Linked DNA regions of Homo sapiens: region 2 is linked to region 1. Evidence: promoter capture Hi-C in human tissues and cell types (Jung and others, 2019). All regions are on one chromosome and are shown on one strand. The core of a region is centred on a gene start or on the middle of the fragment in contact, and the rest is flanking DNA. Distances in the headings are between cores, read along the strand shown.

Region 1 (6,061 bases), core at 2,338-4,837:
ACCAGTATCCTCGGACTCTTCAGACAGAAAAACCTGTTAATTCCAATCACAATTCATTCTTTCATTCAGCTCATGGAAGCCAAGCAGGGCTTTGGGACATTCATTCTGGCAAAGTGAAACAACTGACTTTTTGTGAATGCTATTTAAGTTGTTTAAATTTTCCACATTGGAAATAAAGTCATTGCATTTTTGTGAGGATAAAACACAAATTGTGGTGGAGTCCAGCGTCATGGTAACAATAATATTCCTACTAAATTAAGACACTAATGAAACAGAAATGTGATTGGAACAGGTCATGGTGCACACACAATTTGTTATTGCATATAAATAAATGTCAATATTCTATAAATTGACATTTATAGACGTACGTGACAAAATTTACAAAATGTTAAAACATATGCACAGATTTACTGAACTACAAACTTGTGATAAAGTTGTTCATGAATTTTTTTAAAAAACTGGACTTTCACATGTGTTTTCTCTTTTATTTTCCCATTATCAATCAATTTTAGTGGACATTGAGTCTCAGCATCCTAAAATGTTATTAAACAGTGTATTAAAACAGATCTATAAATTTTCGTTGAATTTTGTTCCAAATCAGTTGGAAATATTTAGTCAAGTTATTCAATGAATAGAGCAGCAAAACGTCAACTTTCAAAGCTTTTAGTGAATTATAAATATTGAAAACAAAGCTGGTATGCAGAAAAATTATAAAATGTATCAGAAAATGATCAAAATCAAATGCTGTACAAGAGTTAATTTTGAAATTCTAAAATGAGCTCTGGAACATTTCAGCTTGTGGGAAGAATCTTTTTAATTGGATAAATTCATGTTCTGTATGAAATGAGATGAAATTGAGAAAGCCAATGATTTTTTTTTTTTTTGCAGTATCTGAATCTGACAAAACATTCAAAACTTATAAGTAGGTACAACTTATTTGAAAGGTTTAATCTGGTTAAAAAAAAATACGTGTGGGCTGGGCACGGTGTGGCTCATGCCTGTAATCCCAGCACTTTGGGAGGCTGAGGCAGGTGGATCACATGAGGTCAGGAGTTCAAGACCAACCTGGCCAACATGGTGAAACTTTGTCTCTACTGAAAACACAAAAATTAGCCGGGCATGGTGGCAGGCGCCTGTAATCCCAGCTACACAGGAGGCTGAGGCAGGAGAATTGCTTGAACCTGGGAAGCGGAGGTTGTGGCGAGCCAAGATCGCACCACTACATTCCAAACTAAGGCACAAAGACAGCACCTGTGAAAATATCTGGGCTAAAATATTTATGCAATTCCATATGCAAAGAATTGGACTTGAGAACAGCCTCTGCCTGGCAGAATTTGCTGAGAGCTTATCACTCAGAACCTGCACAGGGAACATTTTCTCAATATATTATGGTTCAAGAGAAGAGTCAATTGAAGGTACTAATTTAAATTTGTTAATTGTAAAATTTGTGGAAAAAAGATTTCAGGCAATTATATGGAAAAATTAAAAATAACAAGACCCCACTGAAGAAAATACATTCTTGTGAAAAATGCCAGTGACAGGGTATCAGTCAGGTACAAGAAACTGTAGCATGTGAATATACAACAAGAACAATTATTTTGCTTATCTTATTTTTAAATGTTCAGTTGATTAACATAAACATGTTTTCTTTTGCTTTAATATTCATAGGTGTATGCATATATATTTAAAGACTTTTTTGAAAATAGTTTTTATCTAGAACTACTTTATAACACCATCAATATAATATAACCATTTTGTTGGATTTTTTCCCCTTCCTTCCTTCCTTCCCTTCATTCCCTCCTTCTCTCCTTCCCTCCCTACCCTCCTTCCCTCCTTCCTTCCTTCCTTCCTCCATCCCTCCCTTCCTCCCTCCCTTCTTCCCTCCCTCCCATCCTGCTTTCCTTCCTTCCTTCCTTCCCTTCCTTCTTTCCTTCCTTCCTTCTTTCCTCTCTCTTTCTACCTGTAAATACTAATTTTTGGGGGAAATAATTTTTGACTATTGGGGTGCCCCGGCAGTGTGCACACACATGGCCTGACCATCCCTCTCCTAGCTATCTCTGATGATGGCCAGGAAGCTGAGGTCTATGGTGACAGAGGCTGGCAGGTGGGAATCTGTAGAATTCCCCGGCGATTGGTTGGGATTTCTCAGGGAGAAAGGAGGCGAGGTCCTGACCTGTGGTGGAGGGGCTGGGGCATTGAGAGTTTGAGAAGAGATGGGAGGGTGTTGAGCACTGATATGGTTTGGCTGTGTCCCCACCCAAATCTCATCTTGAGTTGTAGCTCCCATAATTCTCTCGTGTTGTGTGAGGGACTTGGTGGGAGATAATTGAATCATGGGGATGGAGAACAAAGCCAAGCCAATATCTTGACTTTAGCTCAGCGAGACTGAGTTTGAACTCCTGATCTCCAGAACTGTAAGATAATAACTTGCATCGTTTTAAGCCACTCACTTTGTGATAATTAATTATAGCAGCCTTAGGAAACCAGCACGGGGGTGAGGCTGCACCCTGCCCAGGAAGCCAGAGACGACCAGCTACGCAGGGACTTTAGCTCGAACCTGATTAGGTCAGTGGACACCGCCCCCATCCCCAGGACGGGGAGGTGGCTGGGGCCACTGCAGCCACAGCATGTGTCTGCTCACATGGGGCTTATTTTTAAAGGGATTGTCCTCACCTGCTGCTGTCTGTGTTTATAAAGTTGGCTAGAGAGGAGAAATCTTCCTTTGCCAGTTTTCAGCTTTAGCTCTGATATTTGCCTGGAACATAGTAGGTGCTCAATAAACAATATCTCTGGATATTGTTAGTAATATGTGACCCTATTTGAAGAACTCAGAAGGGGCACTGGGCAAGTCTACAAGAGATGGCAATTCTGTAATTCCTGTGTGGTATTTTCTGAATTCTGCACATTTTAACCTAGGCTATGAGACAGTGTGACTTTCTTCAACAAATTAGTTAATTCTTCAAATTAACTCCAATTTCAACAGCATGGTGATGTTAAAGGCATTGGAAATTCAGCCACAGATGTTAAAGACCATCAGCACGGTCACATAGTAAGATGCTACTTTCAAGCCACGAATAACCCAACCAGTTATTGGTCTTATGAAATCTTGTAAGCCATCCCAGAGAGACTAATTTAATTTTTATGATTCAGAATTTGCAGGCTGTAACTGGTCAGTCCATGCGAACTCTGGTGGCTGCATTCAGCCCTGACATGTTTCACCTGACTTTGATATAAGGAGCTACTGGAACCTTCCTACGAGTTCTAAAACCTTTCCCTCCTCCTCCTGTTCTGGAAAAGCAATTAAGACCCAAACTAGGCATGAAATAAAAGTCTCTTAAATTGATTTAGAATTATTTTTAAAAAGTACCCTCACAGAAGTGGAAAATTTTGCCAATAGGTAGGTGTAAAAGGAAGTTTTTTGTTTTTCTAAGAGACACAGATTTCCTCTCATATTGTACTCTCATAAAAGAAAAAAAAAAGGTGGTCATTTACTTACTCAGGCAGAAAATGAAGGCGTTCACAACTGTAGTTGGGTTTTCTGATAGTGAGAGCTGCTTTTGGAGGAGTTTTCTCTTCTGGGAAGTGCTGTGGAGATGTGGTTGCTTTAAATTATATAACCTCCGCTCCAGTGATGTCATTGTGGGGATTGCCGCAAAAGTGAGTCTTTCGGGACTCACTCCAAGTGGATTTGGAAGGAAAAATCCACTCTCATTTCACTTTGCACTTTAGGGATGATAAGAGATTATTCAGCTACCATCTCCCCCTTTACTTTGGTACCATCTGCAGAGGTCTGCAATCCTGCCCAAGACCTGTATGTTGGCAAACACGCCCTAAAAACATGTTTTGACATCGCCAACTTGCCCCAAGGCTCGCAAAGTGTCAGTGAACATTGAGGGATGGCTTTTGGCCCCTTCACTATTGGCTTCTGAATGTCTGGGGCTCTGCAGCAGCTTTTGTGGGAGCCACTTCGAATGGCCTCTTTTGAATTTTGGTCATGAAAGATACATCGCCAAGAATCCATCAGAGTGGACCCATCACACAAACAGAGAGCTAGGAAAACGTTTGACTCATGCAATGTTCAGAGTTGAGTAAGACCAGATACATTTTTTCCTAATCCTCCTTGGCGTCTCTCAAATTATGTCTGCATGGGTCAAGTTGAACTACTCAAGACCTCATGTTTCAGACAGTAAGATATTTTTGGCTTTGAGAATCAGGTGACAAGATTCTCCAACTGAAGGCCCCTTACCTGTCAACTTACAAATTAAGATCTTTCCAGGCCACCCCCTACACGTAGGAGAACTCATTCATGCCAGAATTCAGGACTTCGAGTCTGACTTCTGGAAAGGTGACCCTCCAAATGTTTGGAGCAGAAGGTGTCACCTCTGTCTTTAGAATCTTGCCTTTTGCTTGTGTTCCCTTTTTCTGCTAGTGACATCTCAGCGGGAGCCAACTGCACTTCAAGTTTTCCTGCTGTCTTCTCCTGTTGCTGAAGACCTTAAAACTGTGGAAGTAGGTGGAACAAATAGCATTCTGAGGCTCAGTAGCGGATGTACATTTCAGGGAAGAAGCTGGAATTTGCCTTAGAGGATAGGATGGTCCCCTCCTATCAGGAGAGACCTCCTGGGTGGGATTTTTAATAAAAAAAAATTGTCAACAGGCAAGCATCTTCCATTACTCCCGGGATAGATCTGAACCGGAGGAAGGCTCCAAATCTTAGCCTTTCCTGTTACTTAGTAATGTAGGCGGGGGTCTCTCCAGCCCGTGGCTGGCTTATTCTCCCTTCAGTATGAGTTTAGACTATACTGTTTCTGAGAAGCGTTTGTTCTTAGGAGATGTCTCCCTGTTTATTCACCCAGGAGTGCGTATAAGGCCAGCTCTGCCACAAAGAGCACGTGCAGGTCTCATCTCTGCTTTGCCTCTTGCTGGAAGACAGTCTGTGAAGAGAGCTGGCCTGAGTGAGCTGGACTTCGGAGATGCATCTGGCTGCCTTGCCAAGGTGGTGGAGGGCGGAAAGGAAAGTTCTTTAAGAAGACCCACGTTTCCCCTTGTTGCTCATCTCCACGGGAAATGCGAGACAGGCCCGGGCTCAGGGGAGCAGAGGGTCTCCTACTGTCTCTGGGGCCAAGGGAGTGGGGCTGAGGGCAGGGGGAGGGGACCCCAAATCTGTGAAAGAAAAGCAGGTCCCTATAGTGTGGCAGAAGATAGCAGGGGACTAAGAAGTGGGTAGGCACTGAGGACCCTCTTCTGAGGCTTCGCTTGCCTTTTTTCTTTTTTTTTTGAGACTGAGTTTCGCTCTTGTTGCTCAGGCTGGAGTGCAATGGAGCGATCTCGGCTCACTGCAACCTTCGCCTCCTGGGTTCAAGCGATTCTCCTGCCTCAGCCTCCCGAGTAGCTGGGATTACAGGCACACACCACCACACCCAGCTAATTTTGTATTTTTAGTAGAGACGGGGTTTCTCCATGTTGGTTAGGCTGGTCTCAAACTCCCGACCTCAGGTGATCCACCCACCTTGGCCTCCCAAAGTGCTGGGATTACAGGCGTGAGACACCGTGCCCGGCCAATGCTTGCCTTTTCTGAATTTAGTTGTTTGTAATTCCCACAGCCTCTATAAGGTTTGGTTAAACCTTACAGTCTGATGTGTGCTGTGCTTGATGAAGTCCCCTGGGTACTTGGGTGAAGAGGTGGTCACAGAGGATAAAGGCCTGCCTCTGGAAATAGAGGACAGGCCAACCTTCCCTGGGGTGTCCTAAATACTAGTGAGGGGGCACTCCAGGCAGGCTGGACTCCCTGTAGTATGCGTGGGCTTGGGCCATACTGGATGTGTATTCAAGGGAAGGTGAGCTCTGGAGTTTGCAGCCCCTGGGGACATGCAGTCCCAGTGCCCACTGTGACATCAAGGGCCACTTTTCAGTTCTCTCATCCATCAGTCCTGGAGTTTTTTTCTCCTTTACTTTTCTAGTCATATCCAGCAGGTTCTTCAAAATGAAAGACTCTAGTACATGTCACCCAGCAGACCTCTACAAATAGCACCCAGATGCTGAGCCTCTCCAGGGTTCGTTC
Region 2 (6,061 bases), core at 1,261-3,760, 110 kb after region 1:
GTCCAGGGGATGAGCAAGAGCTGGATATGAGTGAGTGAGGGAGCACAGAAGCACAGGAGCTGCCACTGTCAGAGTGGGCAGATGGGAGGGGCGAGGGGCAAGGTCTGAGAGCTGTGCTTGCTTTCTCAGTGGGGTAGCTCATGGCCTGGGGCAAGGTCTGAGTGGGGCACTGCAAGAGCAAGACTAGTCTTTCCAACTACGTGGGAGCTGGGTGAGGCCTCTCGCTACCAACTATCCCCCACTTCCCTGGCAAACTACATGACATGGCAGAGGCAGTCATAATCCCCTCTGGACCTAACCCCATTGGCCTGAGAGACACTCCCCTATTCCCCACAGTGGCCATGGTAAGCCCTCCACAAGAAGAGTGTGAGCCTAGACCTGCCTAACCCTGCCTGGACCTGATGGTATTTCCCTACTTGCCCTCGTAGCCAAACACAAAACCCAGAAACTCTTGGAAGCTTTAAGGCCCTATCCATTGCCTGATAAATCAAAATACTTACCCTGGCCATCTTTGGGCAAGCCTAGAGAGCTTAGAGCCTCCTACTACTACAGCAGCTGTTGCTCTCCTGAAAGCAGCACCTCCTGGCTGGAGGCCAACCAACTCAGGTCATTACAACAACTCAGGACAGAATGACCTTGATCCCAGGAAGGAGAATACAACACCTAATTTTGCTGCCTGCAATATCTTGGCTAACCAGAGGTCCTGCGGGTGTCCACATGAAACCTCATCACTAGCATAACCGGCATTCAAGAAAGTCAGCACACTAAACATATCTACAACCAAAGACTCTCACAGAGTGGGCACTGGTATCCACGGCTGGAAGACCTGAAGACAGGTCACATCATAGGACTCTGCAGACATCTTCCAGCACAAGCTCAGAGCCTGGTATCCCCACTGGGTGGCTAGACCCAGAAGAGCAATAATAATGAGAAGGAATCAGAAAAGTAATTCTAGTACTATGACGAAACAGGGTTCTATAATATTCCCAAAAGATCACATCAGCTCTTCAGCAATGGATCCAAACCAAGAAGAAATCTCTGAATGGCCAGATAAAGAATTCAGAAGGTTGATTATTAAAGCTACTCAAGGAGATACCAGAGAAAGGTGAAAACCAACTTAAGGAACTTTAAAAAAAAATACAGGATATGGATGAAAAATTCTCCAGAGAAATAGATGTAAAGAAAAAAACAATCACAACTTGTGGAAATGAAAGACACACTTAGAGAAATACAAAATGCAGTGGAAAGTTTCAGCAATAGACTAGAGCAAGTAGAAGAACTTTACAGCTTGAAGACAAGGCTTTCAAATTAACCCAATCAGAAAAAGACAAAGAAAAAAAGAATTTAAAAACGAACAAAGCTTCTAAGAAATTTGGGATGTTCAATGGCCAAATCTAAGAATACTTGGCGTTCCTGAGGAAGAATCAAAATCTAAAAGTTTGGAAAACTTACTTGAAGGAATAATTGAGGAAAACTTCCCTGGCCTTGCTAGAGATTTAGACCTCCAAATACAAGAAGCTCAAAGAACACCTGGAAAATTCATCATAGAAAGATAATCACCTAGGCACATAGTCATCAGGTTATCTAAAGTCAAGATGAAGGAAAGAATCTTAAGAGCTTTGAGACAAAAGCATCAGATAATCTATAGGAAAACATATCAGATTAACAACAGACTTCTCAGCAGAAACCTTATAAGCCAGAAGGGATGGAGGTCCCATCTTCAACCTCCTGAAACAAAATAATTGTGTGTCAAGGATTTTGTATCCAGTGAAACTAAGCTTTATAAATGAAGGAGAGATAGTCTTTTTCAGACAAACAAATGCTGAGAGAATTTGCCCAACTAAGCCAGCACTATAAGAAATGCTAAAAGGAGTTCTAAATCTTGAAACAAAACCTTGACATACACCAAAATAGAACCTACTTAAAGCATAAATCTCACAGGGCCTATAAAACAATAATACAATGGAAATAACCACAAGGTATTAAGGCAACAACTAACATAATGGATAGAACAGTACCTCACATCTCAATACTAACATTGAATGTAAATGGCCTAAATGCTCCACTTAAAAGGTATGGAATGGCTGAAGGGATAAAAATCCACCAACCAAGTATCTGCTGTCTTCAAGATACTCACCCAACACATAAGGACTCACATAAGCTTAAGGGGTGACAAAAGATATTCCACGCAAATAGAAGCCAAAAGAGAGTAGAAGTAGCTATTCCTATATCAGACAAAACTGACTTTTAAGCAGCAACAGTGAAAAAAGACAAAGAAGGACATTGTATAATGATAAAAGGAATAGTCCAACAGGAAAATATCACAGGCATATATATATATATATATATATATATATATATACATATATATATACACACACATACACATATATGTATATGTAGCTATACACATATACATATATATTTTGTAGCTATACGTGTGTGTGTGTGTGTGTGTGTGTGTGTGTGTGTGTATATGTAAAACACCAGAACTCCCAAATTCATAAAACAATTACTACTGGACCTAAGAAATGAGATAGATGGCAACATAATAATGTGGGAGACTTCAATACTTCACTGACAGCACTAGACAGGTCATTAAGACAGAAAGTCAACAAAGTAAATGTTTAAAATGCAAAACGAAATTACCTAGATGGTAAAACTGGCCTGAAGGCACATTTCTTTCTCAACATTGTAAAGGGCTCACATGTTCTGGGGTCACCGGGAAGGGTAAGCATTCTCTCAAATATATTTTTTCAGATTTAGTGGATGTGTTTGCTTGAGTTGCTGCATGCTGGGGGACATGTGAGGTCAGACTTAACTCTTACTTGCGTCTTTGAGTTCTTGGTGGTGTTTTGCCCTTGTTGAGTTCCTGTAGTTGTACACCACAGGATGCAGGGTAGGGGTGGCCTGGGAGTTTTTACCTCTGTTTTGGAAGTTAATTCTACCCTGTTTGTTAAACACTTTCCACTTCCACACACTGAGTGACTGGGCGGGGAAGGTCTTGAGGAATGAGCTAAGACCAATTTCATCCACCGCCAATTCATGCCCTGCTCCAGAGGGAGCTGGCTGGCTGTGCTTTCTCATTCTTGGCAGGGGAACACAGTCATGTTTGTCCTGCAATGCCAGGGGAGCCCCAGGCCTAGAACAATGGTGAGTGATTTATTTGGTAAAGTGTATTTGAGTTCCAGAGTGTTGCTAAGCATGTTAAATAGCTGTTATCTTTGCTCAGTCCCAGCCAGTAGTTTCTGGATGCATCCAGGAGGAATTCCACATAGTTTACATGACTTTTCAAGGAGCTAGTTTAGCTTTCCTTTCAGTCTTCCTAACTCTGGGATGATGGTCACTGTGCTTCCCAACCTTTTAGCTGTGGGCAATCAATGTTATGTAAACTAAAAGATTACATTTAACGATTCAAAAGATCAAAAATTTAAAAGATTAATCACAGATGAGCCCTAACCCCCTCAATATCAGAATCATATTTCTGTATGTTCTAATACAACATGTGGATGTCATATCTAAACATCTAAATTGGTGAGATGTCCTATCTGAATGTACCACAGGGCATGGGGCCGCCTTTAGGGAGGACTCTTTTATTCTCTGTGGCAAAATATTACTCCAAATCCCAGCACCCACTTTCTAGTCCATACCATGGCTATGAAAATAATCACGAACTAAACAAATTCTTCCCTTGGAGAATGAGGTTTCAGTAAATTCCAAAGAGTCAGGAAGCATTTGTTTCTCCAACATGAATCATACACAGGCCAGAAGTTGATTTTATACCCTGTCAAACTCGGGAATAAATTTTGTGTGTTTCTTGTAAAACGAAACTGTGCTCGTAATTCATATGTTATTTTGTAGCTTTCTGTTTGCAATTACAGTATGTCATAAGCATTTTCATATCTCACTAAATATCATTTTTAATGGTTGCAGAGTAATCCTTTGAATTTGGTACCATAATTGATTTATCCAAAGCATTATTATTGGATGTTTGGAATAACTATGTCTTAATACAACTTATTAATTCATTTTCTCAACATTCAAGAAGCATCCACCATGTGCCAGGTCTTCAGGGATAAGTAAGATAGCCCTGTCCCTTAAGGAGCTCTCAGTCCAGGGGGAGGTCCTTGTGATCCACTGTGTTAGAGTGAGTAGAACCCACAGGCCAGACTTATTTAATAAGGGGCTACTCTCCCTAAAACCTGCCGCCCTCTCTCTAACCCCAAAGTGCTCAGAATCTGAGCTGTACCTGTGGGAGCAGGGGGTCTCATGTTTGGCCAGAGGCTAGTAGTTTCCTCTTCTTTGCTACCTTCTTCTAGGGTAGTGATTCTCAGCTCCTCTCCATGCTGGTAGCAGCTGATAGATTTAAAAAATACCAATGCCATGGCTGATCAATTATCACCAAGAATGGAGTCTGAGCAGTGCTGTGCTGGTAAATATTTAATAATCAGTAATCCACAAAAAGTATGCGTAATTATACATGTACATAAGTTTGTTATATATCTAGCGATACAAAGAATGTGTAGGACACAATTGACAAATAATTAAAAATATGCAGGACTCTAATGTAAATTCCGTAATAATAATAGATTCTTTTATGTTGTTATTTATTTATTTTAACTTTTATTTTAGGTTCGGGGTACATGTACAGGTTTGTTATATGGTAAATTGCATGTCATGGGAGGTTGGGGTACAGGTTATTTTATCACCCAGATAATTAACATAGTACCTGGCAGGTAGTTTTTCCTCTTCCTCCTCTCACCTCCACCCTCAAGTAAGCCCTAATGTTTGTTACTTCTTTCTCTGTGTCCATGTGAACTCAATGTTTAGCTCCCACTTGTATGTGAGAACATGCGATATTTGGTTTTCTGTTCCTGCCTTAGTTTGCTTAGGATAATGGCCTCCAGCTCCATCCATGTTGTTGCAAAGTACATGATGTCATTCTTTTTTATGACTGCATAGTATTCTGTGGTATATGTGTACTACATTTTCTTTATCCAGTATACTGTCGAGGGGCACTTAGGTTGATTTCATGTGTTTGCTATTGTGAAAAGTGCTGCAACGAGCATAAACGTGCATGGGTCTTTATGGCAGAATGATTTCTATTCTTTTGGATATATACCCAATAATGGGATAGCTGGGTCAAAAGGTAATTCTGTTTTAAGTTTTTTTGAAAAGTGACCACACTGCTTTCCACAAGGGCTGAACTAATTTACATTCCCACCAGCAGTGTAAAAGCATTCCTTTTTCTCTGAAACCTCACCAGCATCTGTTGTTTTTTGACTTTTTTAAATAATAGCCATTCTGACTGGTGGGAGATGGTATCTCATTGTGGTTTTGAATTGAATTTCTCTAATGATCAGCGACATTGAGCATTTTTTCATATGCTTGTTGGTCATGCATATGTCTTCTTTTGAAAACTGTCTGTTCATGTCCTTTGCCCGCTTTTTAATGGGGTTGTTTTTCACTTGTTAATTTATTTAAGTGCCTTATAAATCCTGAATGTTAGACTTTGTTGGATGCATAGTTTGCAAATATTTTCTCCCTTTCTGTAGGTTGGTTGTTTATTCTGTTGATAGTTCCTTTTGCCGTGCAGAAGCTCTTTAGTTTAATTATGTCACATTTTCCAATTTTTGTTTTTGTTGCAATTGCTTTTGGCATCTTTATTATGAAATATTTGCCGGGGCTTATGTCTAGAATGGTATTTCCTAAGTTATTTTCCAGGGTTTATATAGTTTTATGTTTTACATTTAAATCTTAAATCCACTTTGAGTTGATTTTTGTGTATGGTATAAGGAAAGGGTCCAGATTTAATCTTCTGCACATGGCTAGCCAGTTATCCCAGCACCATTTATTAAATAGGGAGTCCTTTTTCCATTGCTTGCTTTTGCTGGCTTTTTTGAAGATCAGATGGTTGTAGGTGTGTGGCTTTTTTTTCTGGGTTCATGTGTCTGTTTTTGTATTAGTACCATGCTGTTTTGTTTACTGTAGGCTTGTGGTATAGTTTGAAGTCAGATAACCTGATGCCTCCAGCTTTATAACAATAGATTCTTACAGAAAG

Evidence for each region. Contacts are between HindIII fragments. The study calls those that stand out against the background at their distance.
Region 2: a fragment that was not itself captured here is called in contact with the fragment with the promoter of BDKRB1 in region 1 in 5 of the 25 tissues and cell types used here (adrenal gland, bladder, heart left ventricle and 2 more).

What each region holds. Positions count from the first base shown.
Region 1 is chr14:96,253,736-96,259,796 of GRCh38, reverse strand. It overlaps BDKRB1 (bradykinin receptor B1), which reads right to left and starts at 3,587. Exons shown (of 3, transcript NM_000710.4): 1 at 3,497-3,587. BDKRB1-AS1 (BDKRB1 antisense RNA 1) reads left to right here. Exons shown (of 2, transcript XR_007064322.1): 2 at 1-566. The HindIII fragment of the contact is 16,224 bases long and covers 1-6,061 here.
Region 2 is chr14:96,143,360-96,149,420 of GRCh38, reverse strand. No RefSeq gene overlaps it. Among named protein-coding and RNA genes, the nearest start is that of BDKRB2, 58 kb to the left of the region's middle. The HindIII fragment of the contact is 3,202 bases long and covers 910-4,111 here.